Regions from separate parts of the Homo sapiens genome. Here region 2 is linked to region 1. Evidence: promoter capture Hi-C in 16 types of primary human blood cells and fetal thymus (Javierre and others, 2016). All regions are on one chromosome and are shown on one strand. Each heading gives the region's core, a stretch centred on a gene start or on the middle of the fragment in contact. The rest is flanking DNA. Distances are from core to core; before and after follow the strand shown.

Region 1 (7,262 bases), core at 2,406-4,905:
CGCAACTGCAATGTTCCAAAGTTAAGAGACAATAATTTCAACAAAAACAAGGAAAAGGAGGTTGGGGTGTAATTTACTCAAATAATCTTTGTGAGGGGATGGGGGAAGAAAATTCTTAAAAAACAAGTACCAAGCTTAGTATTTTTATTGAGCTCAGAAAGCCTGTGGTCCCCAGTAAACTTTTACATTGCCTACCTGTGGCACTGAAGCTGGCAGAGCTAAGATGGAGGTGAAAATTGGAGAGGTATTGGAACATAATAGGCCCAAATGAAATTGCCCAGGCAGAATATATGAATGTATGAAGGCAGTCAAAGAAAAGTAATTCCAAGTATGAACAGTATTTAAAATGCCATAGGAAAGTCAAGAAAAATTGAGAGCTCAAGAAGTTCGTGGATTTGGCAATCAGGAACAATGAAGGTACACGCTGATTAAAGGCACAAAACAAGGAAAGGGTGTTTCCATTCGCTTGGAAAATGGCCTTTTTTCCTTATTAAGGCACGGTGAAAGTAGAAACATTCTGAAAATTACCTTAAAATCTACTGACTTCATATTTAGTTCCCTTTTTAAGCAGGAATAAAAACTGCTATGAAGGAAGGGGAGACATCTTACACGTAACAAAGTAACCCTTGAAGACATTCAAGAGTTCTTAATGCTTACTTTCTATTCAGAGTGGACAAATTACATTCTTTGTACTAAATATTTATAGCTCATCCACATTCAGTTGCTTATAACTGAAAAAAGAAATCCACAAAAACTAGTGAGGATTTAAGGATACACAAATGAATTAAAAACCCAATCTTGTTTTCAAACTACCAAGAGCCTACAACTAAGACTTAAGGAAATAGCACAACCTTGACCTCAGGTTCTTTTCAGGTCCAGCAATCATTTTCTCGTAGCACCAAGTATAAGCGCTCTGCCAAGAAGTAGGCCAGATTTTGGCTGCAAATGTGTTTGTTGAATAACTCCCCACCCTCTACACCACCCAAAAGGAGAAGCCCTTTAAAAATTATTTGCTAGTTTTGACTACTTTAACTAGTTTGGCTAAGTGGGAAAAACGAAAAACAAACTTAGTCTACCTTAATGAATATGCCAAAATAGCCCCTAAAACTGCTGGATATTTTCTCCTATCGAGATTTCAAAAGCTAAAAGTATAGTTTGTACTACTATAAAAGTGCTTCAAATTTCATGATGATGCAGGAACCTTAAGGAATAATATTCACCGGAAGTGCTTATAATTGCATCTTTTATTTTTAAAAACTACAAAAGGGCAACAGAAAGAAAGCAGACTTGAAAGTACTGAAAAGTCTTACAACTTAATACAGTTTAAAACACGGCTTTTATTCCGTATTACTAATGCCCAGTGCAAAAAAAAAAAAAAAAAAAAAAAGCAGGCCCGGCGCGGTGGCTCATGCCTATAATCCCAGCACTTTGGGAAGCTGAGACGGGCGGATCTCGAGAGTTCGAGACCAGCCTGGTCAATGGGGTGAAACCCCGTCTCTACTAAAAATAGAAAAAATTAGCAGGGTGTGGTTGTGGGCGCCTGTAATCCCAGCTACCTGGGAGGCTGAGGCAGGAGACTCGCCTGAACCCGGGGAGGCGGAGGTTGCAGTGGGCCGAGATCTCGCCTCTGCACTCCAGCCTGGGCACAAAAGAGCGAATCCCACCGACAAAACTATATTCTTAAGGGATGTACAGACAGAAAACTGAAATAAAGAACAGGAATCACAGGAGGAAGGAAGAGTCTGAAAAGGGCCCTTAAATTCAGATGGCTGCTTATGCCTTTTCAAAGCAATTAAAGTGTTCCTGGGTGTTATTTACACCTTTAAATTTGTTTCCAAACTTTGGAAATACTTTTCTATTTCAATCTGAGAAACTGTTTCCTCAGAAAGTAATCGATCCTCCTTGACGTTGTACCCCCAGAAGCTGGTCTACCCCTCGCTAGGCCTCCCAGAGGCCCTCAAGGACTCCTAGTTGATTCCGAGTCCCACGTCAGGGAACTACCACCTTACATAAGTATACTTTGCGGGGAGAAAGGCAGATAAGAAAATAGGGCGCCAAACCTTCTCCACCAACAGCCGTCACACCCCACGAGGACTGTCCTGCGGGGGCTTTCCCCTGGGAGCCGCAGCTGTTCTGCCGTATGGGGGAGGGGAACGCTTTCCAACAGTCATCTCTTCCTCTTCAGGCCGCCAACGCCGACCGCACCACAGTCTCCTCCGCCCAAGCCCTGTCCCCTCCCCCGCCCCGGCCTGGGTCGGAGCCAAACCCCACAGGAATGCAGCCCGGTCACATGCGCTGCGGCGGTGGACGTGCCTCTCCCCCCGCGCCCCAAAGAGACCCAGCGCCATCTTGCCCTGACGCAGTTACAAAAGTCACGGGAGAAATCCTGTCTCCTCCTCCGCGCCAGCGCCCCAAAGTTTTGCAGAGGCCGAGCCGGGGCCCTCACCTCGCGCAGGGACAGTAGAAAATGGTCAGGGAAGAGCCTTGCGATTCCCTTCGCCACTGCTTGGGTTCCATATCGGCCGCGGCAGCAACGATCACCATCGTCACTTCTCCCTCTCTACCTTTGCAACAGCCTCCCCCTACGGCTTTGGCCCCACCCGCTGCTGCAGGATGAGGTCATCGCCAGCCAACCACGACGCGCCCGACAGGACACATCAGGCGCTGATTGGCTGCCGAGACCGCCTCTGCCTCTCCCCACTCCGCTTCCCCCAGCGCTCTGGGTCGCTGCGGGGCAAGGGGAAGACGGAAACCATTTCGGGGAAAGACCCCCAAAACAAGAGCCGGAATCGCCGTGTCATTTTAGTGGGGAAACCCTTCTTTTATTCTTTGGTCTCCCCCTTTTTTCTTCGAGATCACTGTCTGTCCCTCCCTCGTTTAATCACCGCCATATAAAGGAATTCCCACTCCCCTCCCCGCACATTGTCCCACCGGTGGGGAAATCCTTCCCCGAGGCCAAGAGAAGTATAGGAGGCAGCGACGGCAACTGCACCGACGGCAACGGCAGCTTTTTACCCCGAAGCACGGTGGCAGGGAGGCGGCGTTGACGGTGGCTGCATTTTTCCGGCTGCTTCTCCCCCCGACCTCTTCCGTTTCTTGCTCCTCCATCGAGACAGCACTAGACTCGCCAGCTCCGCTTTTATCCGGTGCCCGGAGCCTGCGCACTGGAGCCTCCTCAGCCCCTAGTGGGCGTCGAGTGACACCCCAACCGGGTTCACCCAGCGCTGGAGGCCAGACTGGGCTGGGGGAGGAGGGGGAGAGGAACGGGGAGACGGGACTGGGGTTGTTTGGGAGGGGGAGAAGGTGTATCGCTTTCGGAGGGTGACGGGAGGGAGTTCGTTCCCAAGCCCTGCTGTCCTTGTTCGTGCACCCAATACTGGCATGCCCAAGCTCACCTATATCCAGACTTGAGGGCCACTGGGGGAAAGGGGGAAAGAACCAGTCCCACCGAATACCGACACTTCCTCAAACCTTCGGTGGATTGTTGAATGCATCTGTTGTCAGAAAGACAGAGATTCCGTCCCCCTCACCGCCTCCAGTTTGCTATCTTCGAGCCTCCGCGGAGAGGCAACGGCGGGCGGCAGCCCACAAGCAAAATGGCGCCGGGCAGCTTCATCCCCTCCCCCTCTGCCCCTGCGGAGCGGGACGGGCGTACCCCGTGCACTTGCCGCCGCCGCCGCCGCCGCCGCGGCCGCCGCCGCCGCCGCCGCCATTTTCCCAGAGCGAGAGGCAGTGACACTGAGCGGGCGCAGGGGGCCGAGTCGGAGACCGTGCCGGAGTTCGGGAGCGGCAACAGAGTGGGCATAGACACTCCGAGCAGCCTCGCCGTCGTCTCTGCGTTCCTGTTGACTGCCTGGCTGCCCCCTCCCCTACTCCTCGGTTCCTGGTGAAGAGGCTGCGCGCTGCTGTTTGGGGAGGGGGTGTGTGGAGCCGGGTCCTGTGTCCGCAGTGGCTGCTGTCGGGGGGTCGCCTGTTCGCGGAGGTGCGGAGAGACTCCTTGGGGGTCGAGCACATAACGGGGTTCGGGTGTCTCGTGTGTGAACATCACAGGTTAGTGCCTGTCGTCTCCATGGGAGTTCCTGGGGCTTGCGGGGTTGGGGTACTTGTGTTTCAAGGGGGAGGGAGGTCTCTCATCTTTATCCTTAAGCTGGGGGAGCCGACGTTGACTCTCAGGTGTCTTTGCCGGCGCAAGACGTTGCTTGCTTAAATCGAATTTATTCTTTCTTCTCCCTGACCCTAGAAATGGAGCATTATGGCGGGTTTTAGGGTTGGGAAAGGGGTAACTGGCAGTTAAACCCCCTTGAGAGTGGGGGAGTTAGGGAGGGGGCGCACTCCTCATTGGCAGCGGGTTAAGGCCGCTTGAGTGAAGACGGAGGCTTGTGACTGTTAGTAGGGTTTGTGTCGAAGTGGTCCCAGGAGCTGCCAGCGCTCCCTTTTCTCAACCGCGTCTTGTTCAGGTGCTGAAAAGCCATATAGGCCCCATTTTCTTCTTCCATTTCTTGACGGGCAGTCTCTGGTATAATGTGCACATGAATACGAAGGGGGTAAGAAGAACGCCCTGGGCATCTCTCTTTGTGGGAGAGCGAGACAGCTAGCTCCTCATCCTCTCCTGGAGAGGGTAAACCCGCCCCTGAAGTGGTCACCCCAGTACCCAGCCTTCTCAGTCTCCTCCCCCACTCCTTTTGCATTACCGCCGTCCTTTACTGTGCCGGAGCCTTAGGATCTACAATATGGCTCATTTCAGAAAAGCTTATTTTGACCAAGGGATTGGCACAAATTCTATGGCAGCAGACACAGATGAGAAACAAACGGTTCACTGTGCTAAACGGGGTGGGGGTGAGAAAAAAACAATCCAGAGTGCTCTCTTCTACTGGCCTTAGTTCCGTATAGATCCGTCCTTGCTGGGCTCTGTCTTAAGAACGATACAATTTAAAGTCAAAGAGGAATCGCTAGAGTTAGCTCTAGAGTAAACCTCGTTTTGCCTATTTTGTTCCCTTTTTAGAGATGTGAATAAGGTAAGGTGTTTGGAGTTCTGGAGACCTTGGAGAGAATTAAGTGAGGTGCATTCAACTCGAGGCTGGAGACATGAATACCTATTTGGAAAATAGTCTGTTTTTTTCCTTCAATTTCTGAGATGGGGAGTAAAAACTGAAATTTCCCTCTTTTGTCCTTTACAGATTCTAAAAATGGCGGCCCCAGGCTGATGTTGTGGTAATCTAATCAGCTCGGGTCCTCCACACCCCATGCAGTGCGTTTGTCTGCAGCATATTACAGGCTTATTATGTTTACATGAAAAGACTGGGCTGTTTTTCCTTCCCCGAGCCAGTTACAAAAATGTGTTGATTTTTTACTGCAAATTACAGTGCTGTGTTTTAGCTGATTAATTTGATTCGTTTTTCCTGAAAGGCAAATAAAATGTCTCCACTTTTGAAAAAAAAAAACAGCCTTGCAAATTTCAGTGGTGATGATGGGTGCGCTTCAACATTAAAAAAAAATTATTTGGGTACCAATAATAGTTTTTGTTTGGTTTAATCCAACCATCTTTTATTCAATATGCCAAAGTAGATTAAAATGTTTAGTAACTGTATAAGTATCATCTATTTTATATGATTAAATGTTTCAATCTAGAGTAAGACATTTCCCAACCACCTCTTGACCCATTTTGTGGATTTTGGTTTTTGTATTGTGTTTTAGCTTAAATTTTAGGGAGCTGTACAAACAAGCTTAAACCTGTTACTTCATTGGGTGTAGAGATGCCATTATATTTTGCCATCCATTTTTCCCATGTATTTAAGCTTTCCTTAAGAATTTTCAAAGTTTATTGTGTATTTGGTAAAGTGAAGCTTCATGCTGCCTTTAACAATCGTCTTACAGCATACTATCATCATTATGTAAGTTAAAAGTAAGGCTCCGATTCTGGATTTTTTTCCTCTTCAAATATGCCCATTTACCTATTATAGGATTGTGGAATTTAGTCTGTTTTAATAGACCTTAAATAAAAACATTACCATAATAGGGTCTTGAATCCATTTTATGCTATTTTCAGAAACTTACAGACTGAGACTGAAAATTAAATGGTGTCAGGTGTCATTTAACTGAATTTTTTAAAGTGTGAAAGATTAGAATTCACTTTCGTAGTGGGAGTTCTTTTTGGGTTGAACTAAGCAGTGAGATGTGAGTGGGCCATTAATGACATTTAATGACCATTCTGATTGTGGAGCAACGGAAAGATGAGTGCTTTTCAATCCAGTAGTACTTTAAAAGGTTGAAGAGTATACACTGTTTCATGATTCTTTTATTCCATTGTAAATATTTTAGAGCAGCATTTACTTCATATGGTGACTGTATCAACTAGGTTGATAAGGTTCTAGCCTACGAAATAATTAGAGAAATAACTGGCTCAAGGATTTTCTACATACCAGTGAGCTTCATCATGGAAGACTGAGCACACAACCTTACTTAGAATATTTGAAATATTTTATTATAAAGTGAAATGTTGGTGGGTAGTGGGCGAAATTTGTGTAGGGTTTTGGGGTCAGTACTCATTTGTATTTTGATCTGAGCAAGTATTTAAGTCCAGATCATTCACTGCTGTGTAAAGATTGTGCATTTATTTTAAAGGCTGGGTGATTAAGGTCTGTGGTTCAGAAGCTTGGTACTTTAAACTTACTATTCAATATACAAAATCAGTGTATTCTTAAAAATTTGATTTATGTGGCCATAGGAGGGAACACTGCCTGTGCCCGATGGTTTTCTTCATAGAGACCTTGGTCAGGTCTAGACAGACAAAGCAATTGAACTTATTTGGCTTCAAATGAAAAATACCAAGTTAGAAATTATAGGAAAAGCTGTCTTCAGTTTACTAGCTTTCTTCATATTGGCTTGCTTTATTGCTTTAGGTTTTGTTTCTTTTTGGTGGTGGTGGTGGGTGGTTTTTTTTTGTTTTTTGTTTTTTTTTTTGATGTTTTAGTTCCTGTAAAATGATACTGGCTTTTTTTTTTTTTAAGTATTGTACCTTATTTTGAATGGTTACTTTATAAATCACGAGGCTATAATTGTTTGTTTTTTGTTAATTTACTATGTGTGTTTTAAGTTAGGATTGTCTAGGCAAATTTATTAGAAGGTTAGGCATAATTTTTGTTCCCAGAGAGTTTTGAAAGAATTTGGTTCCTTGGGGGAAACTAGTCAAATGGTCTTTGTTCTAGGATAGCTGAGTTTGAAGGATTAGTTGTTTATCTGTTTAAGTGGATTTGTAGAGAACT
Region 2 (7,262 bases), core at 2,343-4,842, 2.2 Mb after region 1:
ATATGTGTTTGAAATAAAAATACTGGTACTCCCCTTTCCACCCCACGCATACATTATCCATTAGAAGTTACTACTGTCCCAGCACGGTGTCTCACGCCTGTCCCAGCGCTTTGAGAGGCTGAGGCGGGTGGATCACCTGAGGTCAGGGGTTCAAGACCAGCCTCGCCAACGTCGTGAAATTGTCTATTAAAAATACAACAGTTAGCTGGGCATGGTGGCGCACACCTGTAGTCCCAGCTGCTTGGGAGGCTGAGGCAAGGGAATCGCTTGAACCCGGGAGGCAGAGATTGCAGTGAGACAAGATCAGGCCACTGTACTCCAGCCTGGGCATCAGAACGAGACTTCCTCTCCAAAAAAAAAAAAAAAAAAGAGTCAATGCCAGGAATTTTATGTCTGTTAAGTATGAAAGTGAGTATTTACTTAGAATGGAAAAATAAATCACAATGAATTAAAAAAAAATTAAAGCTGCCAGATACCTGCATATCACAAAATTCAGGGAAAAATGGCATACTCTAATATTCTTATTAATTGCCTGATATCAGTAACATTCACATTTTTCATATACTTATCAGCATTTACTTTGGTGCTTCATAATTTCTACTATCATTTTCTATAGAGAAACTAGAAACATAATTTTCTCCATAATTGTGGTTGAGTTTTTAAAAGTTATTGATCATAGCTTTAAAAAAAAGCTTTTCCCACAAGTTTTTATAGATAATGTAAAAATGTTTAGGAGTTTATCTTATACTTTTGAGGAGCCATTTAACCACTTTAAAGCAAAATATTGTTTGTGCTTACTCGACTGATAAATTATAGAATGAAGTTTTGATTTCACTTTCTAGTTTCATCTTAGTTTTGTAAACTCAGTGAACCACATTATGGAGAAAATTATGTTTCTAGTTTCTCCATAGAAAATGATAATAGAAATTATGAAGCACCAAAGTTTAGGAAAACAAGTTTCATAAGAATTTTTAGATGATGTCGTTTTAATATGTGACTTATCTTATATGACTCATCTTAAATACTTATTTGAATTGACAGTACTCCTAAAACAGTTTGTGGATGACTGCTTCTGCTATTAATGGGTTTTCTATTGTCTTGATCAATATAGTATTTCATGTTGAATGAGCATGAAATTACTAAGAACTTGTATAGATGTGGATTGGGCAGTGTCTGTGGGATGTAATATCTTTTATACCTACAACAATTCTGATAGGTAGATAGGTACTAGTCCCATTTTTTTTTACTTATTTTTAAAAATTTTTTAGAGATGGGATCTTGCTATGTTGCCCTGGTTGGTCTTGAACTCCTGGCTCAAGCGATCTTCCTGTCTTGGTCTCCCAAAGTGCTGGCATTGCAGGCCTGAGTGACTGGGCCTGGCCACTAGTCTTATTTACAAATAAAAAAAACAGGTCCAAATAAGAAAACAGGCCTAGAGATTTAATTGTTCAGGGCCATGAAAGTGGTAAGTGACCAAAACGAATCCACTAAGGGTTTTTGTTGTTGTTTTGTCTTTTCTTGTAGCCCGGTGGCAAACTAGAGTTGTAGACAAATACCTGTGAAATCTTTTGAAGTTTTGTTGAAAATACTCTAAAAGAACAGCATTACAGCCTCAGAGATGCTTTTGGTATAGAAAGTTGCATTTAATATACTTTGTTATGGAGGCTTGTTTTAGCATGTAATTATGTAATCCATTTAAAATACCTCAGTTTCAGAGATAGAAATTAATTGCAAATTACCTTTTCTTCACCTACTCTTTGAAAACAATTTGAGCGTGTAGTCTGGACTGGTTATGGAAATCCTTCAGGATTAGGGGAGAGCATATAGAAGATCCTGCTGTGGATTCCATGATGATGATGGAAAAGTAAGGATTCAGGGAATAATAGGCACTTGAAAGCAGGAAGTAACCCATGCTGGCTTATACCTTTTGTCTTTTTTCCCTCTCAGCTCTCGCCTTCAAAAAGAAAATGATCCCATTTAGTCATCATAGTCCTGTTTTCCTCATCCATAATAATACTTTATTCACAGAGTTGTTCTGAGTTTAAAATAAAATTAGATGAAGTACATGGAAGTGCTGTGTAGGTAAGCATTTTGTAAAACTGTTTCCTTCTTCATTCATTGAGACTTAGGTTTTTCTAGTTCTCTCTTTCTCTCCTGTCTTAAGATTTTGTGGATATTTGCTTCTGGAAGTTTGCATACCAAAAGCAATGGGGCATTCTAAGAAAGTAAAATTTGTAACACTGAACATGACATTTCAGAGTACAACTTCTGGAAAATAGATACTGAGAATCACTGATCTCGTGAAGAGATGACATGTGCAGAGTTAACTAAAATACAAGGCAAGCTGTGTTGAATCTGATACCAAAGCAGTATACAAAAGCATGAATGAACAATAGGGTTAGCTCTACCAGGAGATATTTGAAAGAGGAGCTTGTTTATCAAAATGAGTATGTAATTGGTATAATATATGTAGGGGAGTAAGAAATGTAAGGGCTTCCCTGGTATTCCTTTATTGTATTGGAGACCTTGCTTTCTTTCTTCAGAATAGTTGAGAATAGACAGAAGAGACAGAAAATTTCCATTTGTATGTAGTTTTGAATTTTGTTTTCATATATTGAATTCTCAGAATAGCCCTGTGAGGTAAGTAGAGGGACCGACCGTGAGTCTGAGATTGAGTGAGTGACCTGTCCCCGGTTACACAGCTAGTAAGAGTGAAACTGAAGTCTGTTGTCTTGAAGTGTAGCTTCTCTTACTGTATGGTAGCTTTACAGTAGCAGAACTTCAGTTTTCTCAGGACCAAACTTCTGATAGCCTTGAGCAATGAGAGGTGTGAACACATAGAACTTATATTCAGTAAATATTTATTTGGTTCTTTTGGTTATTTATAGGTAGCTCTGTTTTGAAATTAAAATAATGTCTTTTTCCAACTTCATTTAAGGAGTTTTGGGATGGTGGTTGATAACTAAGACAAAGTGCTGAAGAAATGATAGAAGTTGCAAAGAGACGTTAGTGTACTATACTTGGTGAATGTTGGAAACTGCAGGACCTGCTGTAGGGAAGAAAAAAGTTCTAGCTGGAAAGAATGAGGAAACCAAAGAGCTCTGCAGAGGGAGGGGGAAGACAAGACAGACTGCAGCTGTGCTTCTGTGGACCCCAAGAACAGCACTGTTCATACACAGAGGATAGCTCTGAAGAGAGATACCTGTGTAGTGCAGCTTCTAAATTTCATAATAAAGGTAAAAATGGGAAATGTTTTCAGTTCAGATAAGGTTGACTGTGCAGCTCACATCTGTATGTGAAGCATAGTACGGATATTCATAAGGATTTTTAGTTATCAAAATAGGTTAAATTATATTCTGTATACTTAAGATGCCAGAAATACTTCTATGGAAAGAGTTAAAATCTCCTATCTAAACTGTTAATATTAGGTGTTTAAAGAACTCACATAGTATGACTAGTTTCTCTCTTAAGAGTTAATAAATAAGGAATCTGCACTGAGAACCATTGCAAAGGAAGCTGGAGACGGGTGGCTTTCATAGAGACTGGGAATGTGAGTGCTCTCTTTAAAAAAAAAAATACCCTCCTTAAAATATTATAGGTGTTCCTGCATACTCATACAGTATTTCAGTATGATTTTGTCCATAGACTCAAAGAGACTGTTTTAAAGTATAGTTCTGATCATGTCAGACCTCTTTTAAAAAAAAAAATCATCAGTGGTTCTTCATTGTCTGATAATTGCTAATCATAACACTAGCCACTGTACATTGAAGGTTTGCTTTGTGTTAGGCTCTATTCTGAGCATTTTACATGATCTCACTGAGTTTTTGTAGCAGCCTGTGAGGTAGGTACTTTTATTGCCATTTTATAAACAAGGCATGAAGATTTTAAGTAAATTATTTAGGGTACATAGCTAGTAAGTGGCAAATCTGGTATTTAAACTCAGGCAGCCTGATTTCAGAGCCCCTATTCTTGTCTCTAAATAAATAAATAGTTTTCCTAAACTACAATTGAAGACTCTGATCCTAGACTACCTTTCCATATAGTAGTAGTAGTAGTAGTATAGCCTCAGTGTTCATGATCACATGACACACAAGGCCATCCTACTTTGTGGTAAAACTAGATTCTATATTCTGATCTCACTAGGACTTTGCCAGCTATATGAGTTTACTCATGTGAGTTTCTCTCATTGGGAGACCTCCCTCTCTTCTTTTTTTTTTTTTTTTTTGAGACGGAGTCTTGCTCTGTCGCCCAGGCTGGAATGCAGTGGCGCAATCCCAGCTCACTGCAAGCTCTGCCTCCCAGGTTCACGCCATTCTCCTGCCTCAGCCTCCCGAGTAGCTGGGACTACAGGCGCCCGCCACCATGCCTGGCTAATTTTTTGTATTTTTAGTAGAGACAGGGTTTCACCATGTTAGCCAGGATGGTCTCTATCCCCAGACCTCGTGATCTGCCCGCCTCAGCCTTCCAAAGTGCTGGGATTACAGGCGTGAGCCACCGCACCCGGCTTTTTTTCTTTTTTCATTTTTTTTTTTCGGAAATGGAGTCTCGCTCTGTTGCCCAAGCTGTAGTGCAGTGGTGCGATCTCGGCTCACTGCAACCTCTGTCTCCCGGGTTCAAGCGATTCTCCTGCCTCAGGTTGCTGAGTAGGTTGGATTACAGGCGCGTGCCACCATACCTGGCTAATTCTTGTATTTTTAGTAGAGACTGAGTTTCACCATGTTGGTCAGGCTGGTCTGGAACTCCTGACCTCGTGATCCGCCCTCCTCGGCTTCCCAAAGTGCTGGGATTACAGGCGTGAACCACTGATCTAGCCCCTTCTTTTCTTTTAACCCATTCATAGCCAAGTCCTGCTCTGTAGAACTATGGTCATTTGCTTATATCTTTCCACTAAAGTCAGACTCATGATGAATTGTTCATTAGTGAGATCCAGCATTGCAACTAATACAATGCCCTGTACATAGTATTTATTAAATAAATGATTTTTTTAATAAGTAGGAATTTAGCAACCATTTTTAGCCCAGTGTATCTCAGTATTCTGCACCTGGAAACAAAAACTAGTGCACAAAGCCATACCCCACACCAAACAGATCAGATCCTCTGGGGATGGGGCCTGGACAACATTTTTTTAAGCATATGTATGATTTCGTGTGCCACAGAGTAGAGAATCACTGATGAAATTAAATTTGCTCCATTTTTTTTTTTTTTTTTTTCAGGGAGAGAGTGGAGGCTTAAAATCGTGATTTCATACTTGAGAAATAGATTTGTGTTACACATTTTCTCTAGTCGCTAGTTCTGTGGGGGAAATTGTTATATCCTAGCATATTTGCTGTAACTATATGCTAAGACTGATTGTGATCAGTACATTGTACTAAACTGGAGAAGCGTTAATTTCTTCCAAATTTCATCTTTTAGGGGCTTGAAGTAATGGCATGATACATGATTTTTATGGAGATGTGCTGGATGACTTGTCATAATATCTCCTAGGGAGGAGACTGTTGAAACTGAATAGCTATCTGGTTTCCACCTGTTAATTATGTATTTTCAGTAGCTGTTCTATTTAGGACATTACAGACCCAAAGTATGTTTAATATTGCCCTATGTCTGGGGATAAAAAAATTTCAAAAGACGTCATTTTACACTTTTTTCACTATTTCATTTCATCTTCACAACTACTATCAGAGGAGAGTAGGGCAGGTATCATTAGCTCTATTTTACAGATGAAGAGAAACTCAGTCACTTAGGTCATATATTTGGTAAGTGATCAAGTTGGAATCAAAACCCGTTTCCTTACATCTAACCCAGTGCCCTTTTTGCTACACCATAATAGTAGCAAATTGTATAGTCAGTATTGAGCAAGGCTCTAAAGCAGTGCCCAGGCTAAGGGTTATTTTTGAGGGATATAGGCAGATAGCATCCAAAATAGAATATTAGACATACAGTAAGGCAATATGCATGCAGTTGGGCTATGTGTCAAGAACGCTGTATCTAGCAATCTAAAATAATCAGATGTAAGCAAATACTTTTAAAAAATAAGAATATAAATTCAGTGTTTAGAAGAGTGAAGAAACTGGGAATAGCATATTCAGTAGTAGAGGGGATAAGTGAATTTCGGTACATCCTTCTGATGTATATTTAACCATTTAGAGCTTTGAAAAAATAACATAGGAAAATGCTTATGAACTTATATTAGGCCAAAAGGTATCAAACTATAATATGAAATATGAAGAAAAACATGATTGAGTATATGTGTACATGAAGAAGAAATTGGATTGTAATACATCAAAATGTAAAAATATCTAAGTCTGGTTGGTGGGGTTAGAAGTAATCATATTCCTTTTTTTCCAAAAAAATTTTTTTTCCCATTTTTTTTCACAGTGATTGTATTTTCTAGTCAGGAATACATTTCAAAACCAAAAAGATCATGAAAAAGTCTTCGTAGAAAGAAATTTATCAGTGTCATCGGTGTTTATTGGTAATTAACATCATGACTTAGAAAGCTTATAAATATTAAGTGATTAACATTTTTTCAGTGCAGTTTTGATCAGCCTGCACTGGGTGCTTGACTTTCAGTGACTTTTAACAGCAATATATTTTATTGCTTTATTTTGAGGAAAAATATGTTGTTGCAAAAGTCAGGATTTTTTTGTGTATTTCATATTCACTCATTAGAACTTTTTCTTTAAGAGGGGGGGTCTTGCTACATTGCCCAGGCTGGATTCCAACGCATAGGCTGAAGTTGTCGTCCCCCTTCAGTCTACCCTAAGTAGCTGGAACTATAGGCATGAGCTACTGCATCAGGCTAGAACTTTTTTAAAAAATGGAATTTAGACTAGAGCCTGAGAAATCAGAAAAATCTTACCATTGTTGCTTATGTTAAATAAAGAACTAATTCGATCGTTGTCCAAAGGGTGAAATAAAAGAGACAACCACATTTTCCTTTCATAATAATATTTAGTTGTTGGATTTTGCTGAGAAATTATTTAAATTTATTAACCCATATTCTCTTCCTTGTGATAATTTTGTAGGCTTGCAGGTAGATTTACTAGTTGTTTAAATTTCCCATGATGATTATTCATCTTTCTATACATAATATCCTATTCAGAATGACAGGTATCTTTTATTATGGCTAGGTCCCAAATTTTCATTAAGAAAACCTAAGAACATTTTTATTTTTATGAGAATTGTAATATATGACCATTTTAAGAAACTCTGAAATGTTATTTAGAAAATGTACTTTTTTTGGCCAGGTGCGGTGGCTCATG

The links. Contacts are between HindIII fragments. The CHiCAGO score rates a contact against its expected background, and 5 or more counts as called.
Region 2: a contact is called between a fragment that was not itself captured here and the fragment with the promoter of KMT2E-AS1 in region 1, in 1 of 17 cell types (neutrophils). The highest score is 6.4, in neutrophils.

Annotation. Positions count from the first base shown.
Region 1 is chr7:105,010,486-105,017,747 of GRCh38, forward strand. KMT2E-AS1 (KMT2E antisense RNA 1) reads right to left here and starts at 3,656. Exons shown (of 1, transcript NR_024586.1): 1 at 57-3,656. It overlaps KMT2E (lysine methyltransferase 2E (inactive)), which reads left to right and starts at 3,720. Exons shown (of 27, transcript NM_182931.3): 1 at 3,720-4,050. RefSeq lists enhancers at 2,270-2,639, 2,729-3,268, 3,060-3,109, 3,430-3,549, 3,810-4,039 and 1 more and silencers at 3,260-3,309, 3,660-3,749. The HindIII fragment of the contact is 4,615 bases long and covers 133-4,747 here.
Region 2 is chr7:107,171,510-107,178,771 of GRCh38, forward strand. All of the region lies in intron 1 of HBP1 (HMG-box transcription factor 1), which reads left to right. Among named protein-coding and RNA genes, the nearest start is that of HBP1, 6.1 kb to the left of the region's middle. The HindIII fragment of the contact is 5,805 bases long and covers 691-6,495 here.